Regions from separate parts of the Homo sapiens genome. Here all the other regions are linked to region 4. The links are contacts of gene promoters, found by promoter capture Hi-C in blood cells and fetal thymus (Javierre and others, 2016). All regions are on one chromosome and are shown on one strand. Each heading gives the region's core, a stretch centred on a gene start or on the middle of the fragment in contact. The rest is flanking DNA. Distances are from core to core; before and after follow the strand shown.

What was found. Contacts are between HindIII fragments. The CHiCAGO score rates a contact against its expected background, and 5 or more counts as called.
Region 1: a contact is called between a fragment that was not itself captured here and the fragment with the promoter of GTF2IRD1 in region 4, in 1 of 17 cell types (total CD4 T cells). The highest score is 5.7, in total CD4 T cells.
Region 2: a fragment that was not itself captured here is called in contact with the fragment with the promoter of GTF2IRD1 in region 4 in 1 of 17 cell types (non-activated CD4 T cells); the score reaches 5.0 in non-activated CD4 T cells.
Region 3: the fragment with the promoter of HIP1 here is called in contact with the fragment with the promoter of GTF2IRD1 in region 4 in 2 of 17 cell types (total B cells and neutrophils); the score reaches 6.3 in total B cells.

The regions. Positions count from the first base shown.
Region 1 is chr7:75,635,691-75,638,462 of GRCh38, forward strand. The region is part of intron 1 of HIP1 (huntingtin interacting protein 1); the gene reads right to left. Among named protein-coding and RNA genes, the nearest start is that of HIP1, 100 kb to the right of the region's middle. The HindIII fragment of the contact is 227 bases long and covers 1,387-1,613 here.
Region 2 is chr7:75,595,329-75,598,101 of GRCh38, forward strand. All of the region lies in intron 2 of HIP1 (huntingtin interacting protein 1), which reads right to left. Among named protein-coding and RNA genes, the nearest start is that of SPDYE5, 100 kb to the left of the region's middle. RefSeq lists enhancers at 1-550, 1,465-1,604. The HindIII fragment of the contact is 1,148 bases long and covers 929-2,076 here.
Region 3 is chr7:75,737,678-75,740,377 of GRCh38, forward strand. It overlaps HIP1 (huntingtin interacting protein 1), which reads right to left and starts at 1,264. Exons shown (of 31, transcript NM_005338.7): 1 at 1,124-1,264. The coding sequence starts at 1,243. RefSeq lists a silencer at 1,052-2,041. The HindIII fragment of the contact is 9,380 bases long and covers 1-2,700 here.
Region 4 is chr7:74,452,456-74,455,155 of GRCh38, forward strand. It overlaps GTF2IRD1 (GTF2I repeat domain containing 1), which reads left to right and starts at 1,451. Exons shown (of 27, transcript NM_005685.4): 1 at 1,451-1,721. RefSeq lists an enhancer at 1-266 and silencers at 1,152-1,501, 2,004-2,073. The HindIII fragment of the contact is 10,217 bases long and covers 1-2,700 here.

The sequences.
Region 1 (2,772 bases), core at 250-2,749, 1.2 Mb after region 4:
AGATGAGGGTAAGAGGTTACAGAAGAAACTTGCTAAAAATCATGCAGGGACGCAATGTACAGTGGCTCACACCTATAATCCCAGCAGTTTGGGAGGCTTAGGTGGGTAGATTGCTTGAGCCCAGGAGTTCGACACCAGCCTGGGCAACATGGCAAAACTCCGTCTCTGCAAAAAATACAAAAATTAGCTGGGTGTAGTGGTGTGCGCCTGTAATCCCAGCTACCCAGGAGGCTGAGGTAGGGAGGATCACTTGAACCTGGAAGGCGGACGTTGCAAATGAGCTGAGAATGCGCCACTGCACTCCAGCCTGGGCAACAGAACAAGACCCTGTCTCAAAAAAAAAAAAAAAAAAAAAAAAAATCATGCAGAGGCCAGGTGTGGTGGCTCACGCCTGTAATTCTAGCACTTTGGGAGGCTGAGGTGGGTGGATTGCTTGGGCCCAGGAGTTTGAGACCAGCCTGGCCAACATGGTGAAACTCTGTCTCTACTAAAAATACAAAAATTAGCTGGGCATGGTAGTGCTGGGGGCGCGCGCCTGTAGTCCCAGCTACTAGGGAAGCTGAGGCACGAGAATCGCCTGAACCCGCGAGGCAGAGGGTGCAGTGAGCCGAGACTGCACCACTGCACTCCAGCCTGAGTGACACAGCGAGACTCTGTCTCAAAAAAAAAAAAAAAAATCACGCAGAATCAGGTAAACTATAATCTGCTTTTCCTCACTCTGCGTAAGCAGGAGAAACCTCCAAGGCTGACATTGGACTCTGTCAAGGATGTTCCTGAAAGGCTGCGTTTGAGGTCAAGCCTGCAGCCAAAGGCCCCCAGAGCGAGGACTTCAAACCAGAGATGGGAATTTAATGGCCAGAACAGAAAGTACTTTTGGCCTCTTGCAGGAATGAAAAGCAGACACCAATTCCCCAGGGTGGGTAAGGTTCTCCTTGCTACACAGGCACAGGTCTGTGCTCTTTACAAAGAGCTGCAGACGATTGTTTCTGGATTGGGCGCTTGGCTGCTCAATGATTAATGAGAATCTAATATCACTTTTGTTTGGACCCCAAGCTAAAAGAGGAAAGAGGCAATAGATGCACCTCCCCAGGGCTCAGAATTCTCCAGAGGTTTCCCAGTGCTTACGGGCCAGGGTCAGAATGCCTTGGTTGGCATTCAGGGACTTGCTGGTCTGGCCCCAAACAACCATCTCGATGTTTCCTGATTTCAAACCTCTGTACCAGCCAAATGTCTTCAGCCTCACCCAATGGACTCTGCCCATCCTCTTCCTGCGATTCTCCCAACAGGCAATGCCTACCCCACCCAACCTCCAAGGGCCAACTGAGGTCTTGGTCTTCCTTCTGAACTCTGCACTCCAGTCCCTTCTCAGACCCCCATGGTCCTCAAAGCTTTGGCCTTCTGATCCAGGCCTGTATTGATAGCTAACTGTTGAGTCGGCCTGTATCTCTCTGGATCCTTCACTTTCATGCTAAGGGCCTTGAGAAGCAGGGAGGGAGGCCTTCGATGATGTTTCTTTGTGTTCTTTACCCAGCACTTGCTATAGAAATTATGAGAATTAAATAAATGCTGTTGATTAATGAGGGATGGATGGACAGAGGTCCCTGAGTCCTATAAGCTTGTCCTTGCAGGCCAAGCTTTGCAGGGAACCTGGGTGCAGGGCTGGGAGGATGCTCAAGGGTGATTCGGTTTAGTGGCCATTGGACTAAAGTAGAGTTTCGAAGCTTCAGATCCCTCAACCTCCTAATCATAGCCCAGACAGATGAGTCTTCTGGTCTTGCTCAGACACCTCTAGGAAAGAACTACTGCTTAGTTTTCTACATCTCCACCCCCATAGCTGCAGAGAGGATTTTTTTTTTTTTTTTTTTTTTTTTTTGAGAGGGAGTTCTAATACATGCCCAAAGAAAGCGAGATTTCATGGCAGACAGACAAGGAATGCTGGTCCAACCTCTGGGCACTCACTGCCCAACCATGAACAGGTATTTCTCTCCAAATAAAGATAGGAACCCAAATAAAGACATGAAGCCCCTCAAGCAGCCCCCAACCCCAGGGGCAATGCTCAGTCAGTCTGAGACTGATGCAGGCCATAGAATAGGACTCTCCCCTGTCATCAGCCCCCATCCCATTGTCTCCTAGCCAAGACAGAGTGCCAAAGGCCAGGGCCGGGCAGAGAACCAACCTCCCTTGGTTGCCTCGAAAGGGCACCCTCTGGGGAAAAGTAATATAATTCTGAACAAGATAAACTCAAATTCTAGTACCTCCTCATCTCTATGGCAAGGGCAGACCCAGACCCCCCCCCCCCCCCCACACACACACATACACACACACACACACACACACACACACAGCCCACGACAGCTCCTTTCCTCGAAAGCCCTGATTGCCTCCCCCCTCCCAAGACCCGCCTGACACACAGGCCCTTGAGGGTTGCAAGGCTGGACGGTAGGGACAGTACCCTGGTCTAAACTCGGGGTCAGGGTGATTGAGATGGCAAGGGCACCCTTAAATCTCCATTCAGAGTGACAGCCAATCAAGACCCCTGGGAAAACCTGCAGTTTCCGGGCCTCCAGGTGCTCCCTGCGAACCCCCCTCCCATCAGAATCCCCCAAATCACATCCTGGTACCGGCTGAAGGCTGCTCCTTGGTCTCAATCAATAAGCAATGATTTCTTCAAGATCCTACTGTATTCGCGGTGGAGGTGGGGGTGGAGGGCTTCTCTGGGGGAGGGCACAGACCCCTCCAGAGGAGCCCATTTCTAAAGGAAAGGCGGAGTCA
Region 2 (2,773 bases), core at 253-2,752, 1.1 Mb after region 4:
CTCTCGTTCGTTCTTTCTTTCTATTTTTTTTTTAGACAGGGTCTCGCTCTGTTGCCCAGGCTGGAGTGCAGTGGCACAATCTTGGCTCACTGCAACCTCCACCTCCCAGGTTCAAGTGATTCTCGTGCCTCAGCCTCCCAAGTAGCTGGGATCACAGGCACCCGCCACCATGCCCGGCTAATTTTTGTTTTTTTTAGTAGAGACGGGGTTTCACCATGATGCTCAGGCTGGTCTCGAACTCCTGGCCTCAAGAGATCCACCCACCTTGGCCTCCCAAAGTTCTGGGATTACAGGTGTGAGCCACTGTGCCTGGCCTTGGTGTAGGAGCGATTTCTGAAATAATTCAGAAATAATGCCTTTCTGGCATTCTTTCACATATAAGCATTTTTATGCCCCAAGTATGTGTCAAAGCCTGTAAAATCCATTCAGGGAGAAAAAAAAGAAAATAAGAAAAATAAGACTCAGTCCCCAGCCCTCCAGGAGTGAATACCAAGGTGGCGGGCCAACCTGTTCACCATTTAGGCATCTGTGATAAATGTGTAAGCAGCATTTCTGAAGTCAGACTTCCTAATGCTTATTCAGTTTGTATCTAAGGCAGCTGATAAAAGACCTGATAATAGATAAATGCGCTGGGCATGGTGGCTCACGCCTGTAATTGCAGCACTTTGGGAGGCCCAGCGGGAGGACTGCTTGAGCCTAGCTAGGAGTTCAAGACCAGCCTGGGCCACAGTGAGACCCCATCTCTATAAAAAATTAGCCAGGCATGATGGCATGTGCCTATAGTCCCAGCTACTCAGGAGGCTGAGGTGGGAGGATCACTTGAGCCTAAAAGTTGGAGGCTGCAGTGAGCCTCCAACTGATTGTGTCACTGCACTCCAGCCTGGGTGACAGTGCATGACCCTGCCTCAAAAAAAAAAAAAAAAAAAAAAGCTTTGGGATATCTTTAATTAGGCATTTCAAACCCTACTGTATGGAGTTGATTTTTCAACATTTATTCACCATTTAGAAATTATGAATCAGAGACTCATAGAATGTTAGGGCTGGACTGTTAAATCTTTGAAATCTTTTTCTTTTTGAAACAGAGTTTTGCTCTTGTTGCCCAGGCTGGAGTACAGTGGTACGATCTCGGCTCACTGCAACCTCTGCCTCCCAGGTTCAAGTGATTCTCCTGCCACAGCCTCCCAAGTAGCTGGGATTACAGGTACCTGCCACCACACCTGGCTAATTTTTGTTTTTTCAGTAGGACGGGGTTTTACCATGTTGGCCAGGCTGGTCTCGAACTCCTGACCTCAGGTCATCCATCCGCCTCCACCTTCCAAAGTGCTGGGATTATAGGCATGAGCCACCACACCTGGCCTGAAATCTTCTTTGTCCAACCTTTGATTGAACAGAAAGTGACCTAAGACTCATGGAGGCCCCACTCAAGGTCCCAGAGTGAGCCCGAGAGTTCCAGTGGCAGAATGTCAGAATCTCCTTGCAGGGCCCCTTCCCTCCTCCCAGGGAGCCTCCCGGCAGCATGTGACCTGACCCTGCCGCTGCAGGCCTGGCCTCTCTGCACCCATGTCTTGTCCTGAACAGCACACTGCCTGATGATAACTGTCTCTCCCTTACTCATATCTTTTATCAGATTGATCACAAATTATTCGTAGGTAAGGGTCAGGGCTGAGTCATTTCCTCTGAGAAAATCCACTGGGCCGTTTAAAATAAAGGCTTTTCTTGGTTTGCTTTGAATCATCGCAAGGGTACCAAACGTGATGCAGGAAACCAAGGGGCCTGTGTCTTTCTGGGGAAAAAAAGAGCAAGATCTAGCTAGGCTCGCACAGGGCTGGACTTCTGGGTTACCCCAGAGAGGTTCTGCAGCCGCCATCCTAATTCCAGCCAAAGCATCTTCCCACTAAAGGCAAGCTGCTTTCCCTCTAGCAAACAGCAGTTCATATATCACACTAAGCAATGCTGGGCTTCTCTGGCTATCTAACCTGGAGGGTCGCCTCTAGGGGTTGAGGCTAGAAGGCTTCGGGACAAGCTGCTCTGGCTTGCCTGGCTGTGACACAGTAACCAAGAGCCCAGGTGAGGAGAAGCTTCCCACTGCAGACAGAAGTCCAGCCTCTGAGGCTGGGTGCGGCCTCCGAAGTTGGGCGCGGTGGCTCATGCCTGTAATTCCAGCACTTTGGGAGGCCAAGGCAGGAGGATTGCTTGAGCTCAGGAGTTTGAAACCAGCCTGAGCAACATGGCAAAACCCCGTCTCTACTAAAAATACAAAAATTAGCTAGGGGTAGTGATACACACCTGTGGTCCCAGCTACTTGGGAGGTTGAGGCAGGTGGATCTCTTGAGCCTGGAAGGCGGAGGTTGCGGTGAGCTGAGATCATGCCACTGCACTCCAGCCTAGGCGACAGAGCAAGACTCTGTCTCAAAAAAAAAAAAAAAAAAGTCCCAACTCTGCTTGCCCGGAACTCCACCTTGCTCTGGCCCAGCACACAGAGAGTTAAAAGCTTAGCCACCCCCCTGGCAGACTCTCTCCTTCAGCCTTTGGGGATTAAGCGCTCCAGTTCCTGGATTCTGCAACTCAAAGGCAGATTCCTAGGGATTCATCAGCCAGCATGGTCCTGCACCTCTCTACAAAGCCACAGGCTGCTCCTGGGTGTGGTGGGCTTACAGAGGGCTTTCAAGTCACCCATTCCCTAATCCACTTCAAGGCTCTTGTCTTCTTCCCCCTGGCATAGGTTGAACCTGTTCACGAAGGTAGAGAGCCCCTGCCTCAGTTTAAGGCCAAC
Region 3 (2,700 bases), core at 14-2,513, 1.3 Mb after region 4:
AGAACCTTCAGTCAGATTCTCACTGTCTTTTCTAACTAAAATCCCAAAGCCCTTTCCCTCCAACTGTGTTTGGGGGAAGTATTCCTCGCATAACACATCAGGGGACCAGCCTCTGGAGAGGGGGACCCAAATGGATCTTCAAAGGTTCCACTCTGAGCACAAGAGTGTAGAAGAAATCTGCCCCTCCAGCATTGGCACTGGGATTAAAAGAAGCGTTGTACTCTTTGAAATGGATTTTACATACAAATGAATTGATGAACACCATCAACATGTCAGCTTAATTCAGCCCAATCAATACACCAGGCATTAAAAACTCGGAGAAAAAAATGGATTGTGGCTTTTTGTTGATGACACTGAGGAATTTTGGCCCCAAGCCCTGGCCAGGCAGGACAAATAGGGCAGTCTGCCTATTAGCTGTCAGGCACATCTTGGGGGATAAAACCAAGACCCCAAGTCAGGGCTCAGGGGCACCATGGTCTCCACTTTAGCCCCCAAAGTAATTTTCCCACAAAGTGGCCACACTTTGCATTTCCTACATTCCTTTTCCCTGCTCCGACCCCTTCCGCCCGGCCTCAGAGCTGACAGCTGGGGCTGGCCAGAGCCAAGCAAGAGGCATCGAGAAAGGGGGATGCTAAGGGGTGGGGGGTGGGAAGGGATGTCAATGCAACCAAGAAGTGATCGGAGGGGAAGAGAGGTCCCCTCACCCTTCACATTCCCAGCCCGGCGCCCCCACTCTCCGCCCCCACACTTGAGCCTCCAAGTGGCTCCCGTGCGCTTCCCTTGTTTAGGGGCAACCCTTCCATTCCGCCCCTTTTCAGTTCCTTCCCCTCTCACCTCATCTTGGGACTCCTGCCCGGTACCCAGCCGATCAGGCTCCTCTTGGCCACGCATCCTGCCATCTCCTCCGAGCCCGCCTCTGCCCTTCTCCCCAGGCCAGCTGGGGTACCCTGGGGTCCCCGACCTTCCTGGGATCGCCCAGATCTGCACGTCAATGCCCCCGCTCACTACACCCTCGCCCCGTCTTCAACTGGGGCCTGCAAGACTCCTACTCCCTTCAAAGCCCCTCCCGGACACCGCGTCCCTCAGGGTGCCCCAGGGATGCCCCGGGGTCCCCCGTCCTCACCTGAGTCCGCTCGAAGCTCTCGCGCTCCGCCGCCTCCAGCCCAGCGCCGACCCCGCGCCGGCTCAGCACCTTGGGCAGTGGGTTGGGCACCTGCTTCATGGAGCTGGCCATCCGATCCATGTCGCCGCGAGGAGCCGAGTCAGGGGCCCTCGGCTGCCCCGGGATCCCCACGGCGCCGCCCGCCCCGCCCTACCCGCGGGGATCCGGCGCTAACGGGACGGCTCCCGCCTGCCATTGGCTGTGAGTTCTGCCAGTCTTCCAGAGACCCCGCCCCTCGCCGAACGGCTTCCCCGCCCGCCCCCGCCCCTTCAGGAGCCCCTCCGCTGGCTCGGCCCCGACTAGCCTCTCGGGGCCTCGAGGCGCGTGGTGACTGGTCTGGAGTCCTGTCAGTCACCGTGGTCCCGCCGTTCTAGGCAGGGCCGGGGCGGGGTGCGGACGGGGCGAGGCCTGGATGGGGCGTGGCCTGGGCGGGCTGCCCTGATATGCCCTCGCTCGCCCCGCCCCCGCCCGCGCACCGCCCTCTCCTCCCCTCGGCCGCAGTCCCCGCGCGCCCCGAGCGTGCTGCCCTCCGCCAAGCGCCGCCCACTACCCTGCCCGCTCCTGCAGGGGGCTATCCCGCGACGGCCCGTGGAGATGGGCGGGGATGACGCGGGCCGGGCAGTGGGGCCTCCCCCGGGGGAATCCCAGCCCGCCTGCGAATAGCCCGTTAGCTCCTTCCGGGCCTGGGACCCGGGAGCGCCGGACTGACCAGCCCTGCGGCCGCAGCCCGGGAAAGCGCAGCCCCGCGGGCGGGGCGCAGCGTGGGCGCCTGGCCGGATCCGGCTCAATGGGTGGCCGCCCCCACCCAGCTCCCAGGCTTCCCCGTCCTGCACTTCTCCATTCTGCCCCTGCCCATGCCCTCTGCAAGGATCGCAGAGCCCAGGTCCCGGAGTTCGGGGCTGAGTCCGCGGGCACCTCCCGGGACCTGCCTCCCAAACCTCATCAAAGGAACCCGTCAGAGCTTATTTGTTGGTAGAAAGCCCTGTAGACACTTTCGGTTTATCTTAGGCTCTGAGCCGCGCGTCCCATCCTGCTCAGACGTCAGCCAGGGTACCAGCAAGCAGAGAGAAGTGTGATGCTTAGCAGGAGTGCTGGAGAAAGTTAAAAGTTTTCCGTTAAACTCCAATTTAGGTGTGTTTTTGTTTTTGTTTTTGTTTGTTTTTTTTTTTTTTTTTGGTTTCATTTGGAGTCAGTCTCCCTCTGTCGCCCAGGCTGGAGTGCAGATCGTAACACACTGGGACCTTGAGCTCCTGGGTCCTAGCGATTTTCCTGCCTCGGCCTCTCGAGTAGCTGGGACTACAGATGCACGCCACCAAGCCTGGCTATCTTTTTTGCAGAGATGGAGTCTTTCTATGTTGCCCAGACTGGTCTCGAACTCGTGGCCTCAAGCAAGCCTCCCACCTTGGCCTCCCAAAGTACTGTGATTACAGACATGAGCTACAGCACCCGGCATAGATGTATTTTTTAAAAGTTATTTGAAACTCGGAGTAATGAATGGCACCTTTAGGCCTAACAATTTGGTGATTCGTGTGTGTGTG
Region 4 (2,700 bases), core at 201-2,700:
GTGGGGGCCACAGGATGGGCTGAGTCATGAGTCACACAGGTCCAGGTGAGTCAGTCGGTTGCCCGAATGCGAAAGTCTGAAAAACATCTCCAAAGACCAATCTCAGTTTCCACAATAGAGATGCTATCTATAGGAGGAAGTGGGGAACTCACAAATCTTGTGATCTCTCGCCACATGACTCCTGAGCAGTCAGATTATAAAAACGATGCGTAGGTTTTAGCAGCGTCCAGGCCCCTCCCATAATCCTAATCTCACGGCCTTTCGTTAGTTTTACAAAGGTGGTTTTGGTCTCTTGTATAAAAAGCAGGTTAGGTTTAAGGAGTAACTATTATCATCCTTGTTTCAAAGTTGAACTATAAACTAAATTCCTCCCCCGGTTAGCTTGGCCTATGCCCCGGAATGAGTGAAGACAGCCAGCGCGTGAGGCTGGAAGCAAGATGGAGTCAGCCACGCTAAACTTCTGTCACTGTCCTAATCTTTGCAAAGGCAGTTTGGCCAGGAGGCTGTGGGGAGACCTTGTGGGTTTTGCCAGGACCTGGGAGATTCTCGATCTATGTTTGGCTGTCCTTCTAAGCCAGAAGCTCCCTGGGGTTGGGGCCTGCCTGGGGTGAGTCCCTCCCTCCCTGCCATGCCCAGTCTAGCCAAGGTCTAGTTCAGGGATCAGGGCACCACGTGGGGGAAGGACTGTGTTCCTTGTGCTGAATTAGGATTTATGGCTTTGGGGCCGGATGGGAGGCGTGCGCACTGATTCAGTAGGAGCGCTGCTGTGGTGTGTGTGTGGTTGGTGGGAGCGGGGCGGGCGGGGGGCGGGGGGGCTGGTTGGGGGGACAGGGGTAAAAGCCTATCAGAGGGAGGTCCCATCAGACAAGATGGGACCAAGAGTCCAGTTGGCTCTGCTGCGACTTTCGGCCTGTCACTGCCTTCCTGCACATCTCAGGGGTGGGAGGGGGACAAAGGCTGTAAGAGTAAGAGGTACCTGGCCCAAGCCTTAGGACTAGAACCCGGGCCAGGCGGGAGTGACCAGCCGGGACACTCAGGGCCTCCGCGCGTTCCAGCTGGGTGACCTTGACCCTCCAACTTCAGCCCCCTGCGCCCGGCTGCTCTCCCAGTGGTGGTGGGGAGCGGTGGGGGTAGACGGGGGCGCGCCCAGGCTTTTCTAATCCGGCGCTGGTGGGGGAGAACCGAGGGCGCCACCGCCCCTCCCCGCAGGTCCGGGGCCGAGGGGTGCGGCGCGCTCTCCCCACCGCGGTGCCCAGGTCCCCGGGACGCAGGGGCGCTGGGTAGCAAGGGGGGTGCGCAGGGGCGCGGGGCGCGGGGCGGGCTAATCCCGTATGTAAATGGCAGCCAATGGAGGGTGGTGTTGCGCGGGGCTGGGATTAGGGCCGGGGCGAATGGCTGGCAATCTTACTGGGATTACAGAACAAAGAGCCTCCCCGCGCTCCCGCTCTCCGCTCCTCTCCCCGCGCCGCCCCGCCCTCCGCCGCAGCCCGCGCCGGGGGTGGGGGCCGCCGAGCGCCAGCCCCCCGGCCGGCCGATTCCCCCCCCGCGCCCCCTCCCCGCGCCTCCCTCCCCGCCCTCGCCGCGCCGCCGTCCTCGCCTCCCTCTGCCTCTCCTTCCCCCATTCTCCCGGATTAATTAAGGAGGCAGCGGCAGGAGGCTGAGTCCTGGCCGCGGGCCGGGGCCGGGGCGCCGCTGGCAGGAGCGCTTGGGGATCCTCCAAGGTAGGAGAAACTTTTGCGGGGGGCGGGCACCGAGGCCCTTCTCCCCTTCTCCCCCACCCCCGCCCCCGATCCCCTCCGCCTCCGGGGGGGGGGGTCCCCGCCCCTCCCCCTCTCAAGGTGTTACAGGAGCTGGGGCCGGCTTTTGGGTGCCCGGGGAGGCACGTGACTGGGATTATAATTCGGGCCCGGGGGGAGGGGAGGGACGGCCGCCCCCCACCTGCCCGGGAGGGGCCGGGAGCTGGGAGCTGTCACCCCCTCCCTCCTTGCCACCGGCTCTTCTGGAGGTGGGGGGCGTCCCGGGCCGGCGCCCGCAGGCTGCTGCAGTTGGCGAATGAGGTCAGTCGCGCTGCCCGCGGTGGCGGGCGCCGGGGTGGGAGCAGAGGGGGCTGGGAAGGCCGCGGTCCCCGCCTTTCCCCCCTCCACCTTCTCCCGGTCTGGGCCAGCCCCTGGCCCGCGCCCCCAACTCCCAGGCGGAGTCCAGTCCAGCCAGGATTGCCCCAGCAGGGTGGTTCCTGTAGTGGACCCCCCGCCCCGGCCCCGGGGAGGGGGCTGGCCTGTGTGGTGGTGGCCGCTGAATCCCGGGTGGAGGGGACTCAGAAGGTGGCAGTGGGGGGACCACAAAGGGTTCAGAGGAGTAAGTTGGGGATACTCGGTCTGTGGGTGGTCTCTGAGTTCCTGCAGATGGGTGGAGAGGACAGAGGAGGGGCCACAGGGTGCTGAACACCCACCCGCCCCATCCTAAGTACCCTGGGCATGATGGGCTTGACACCTCTCCTGGGCTCCTCACCCCTGGCCAGCAGCCAGGGAGTGAGACCCTGCCTCGCCTGGCGTGGGCCCAGGGAAGGGGGCCGCTGTGCCGCTGAGAGTTCGTTCCACCCTCCTGGCAGTGCTGGAGGGGGCTGGAGCTCTGGCGTCTGGCCTAGTGACCCTACCTCCCAGGACCAAGGTCCTGCGGTGGGAGTCTCCTGTGTCCCCATCC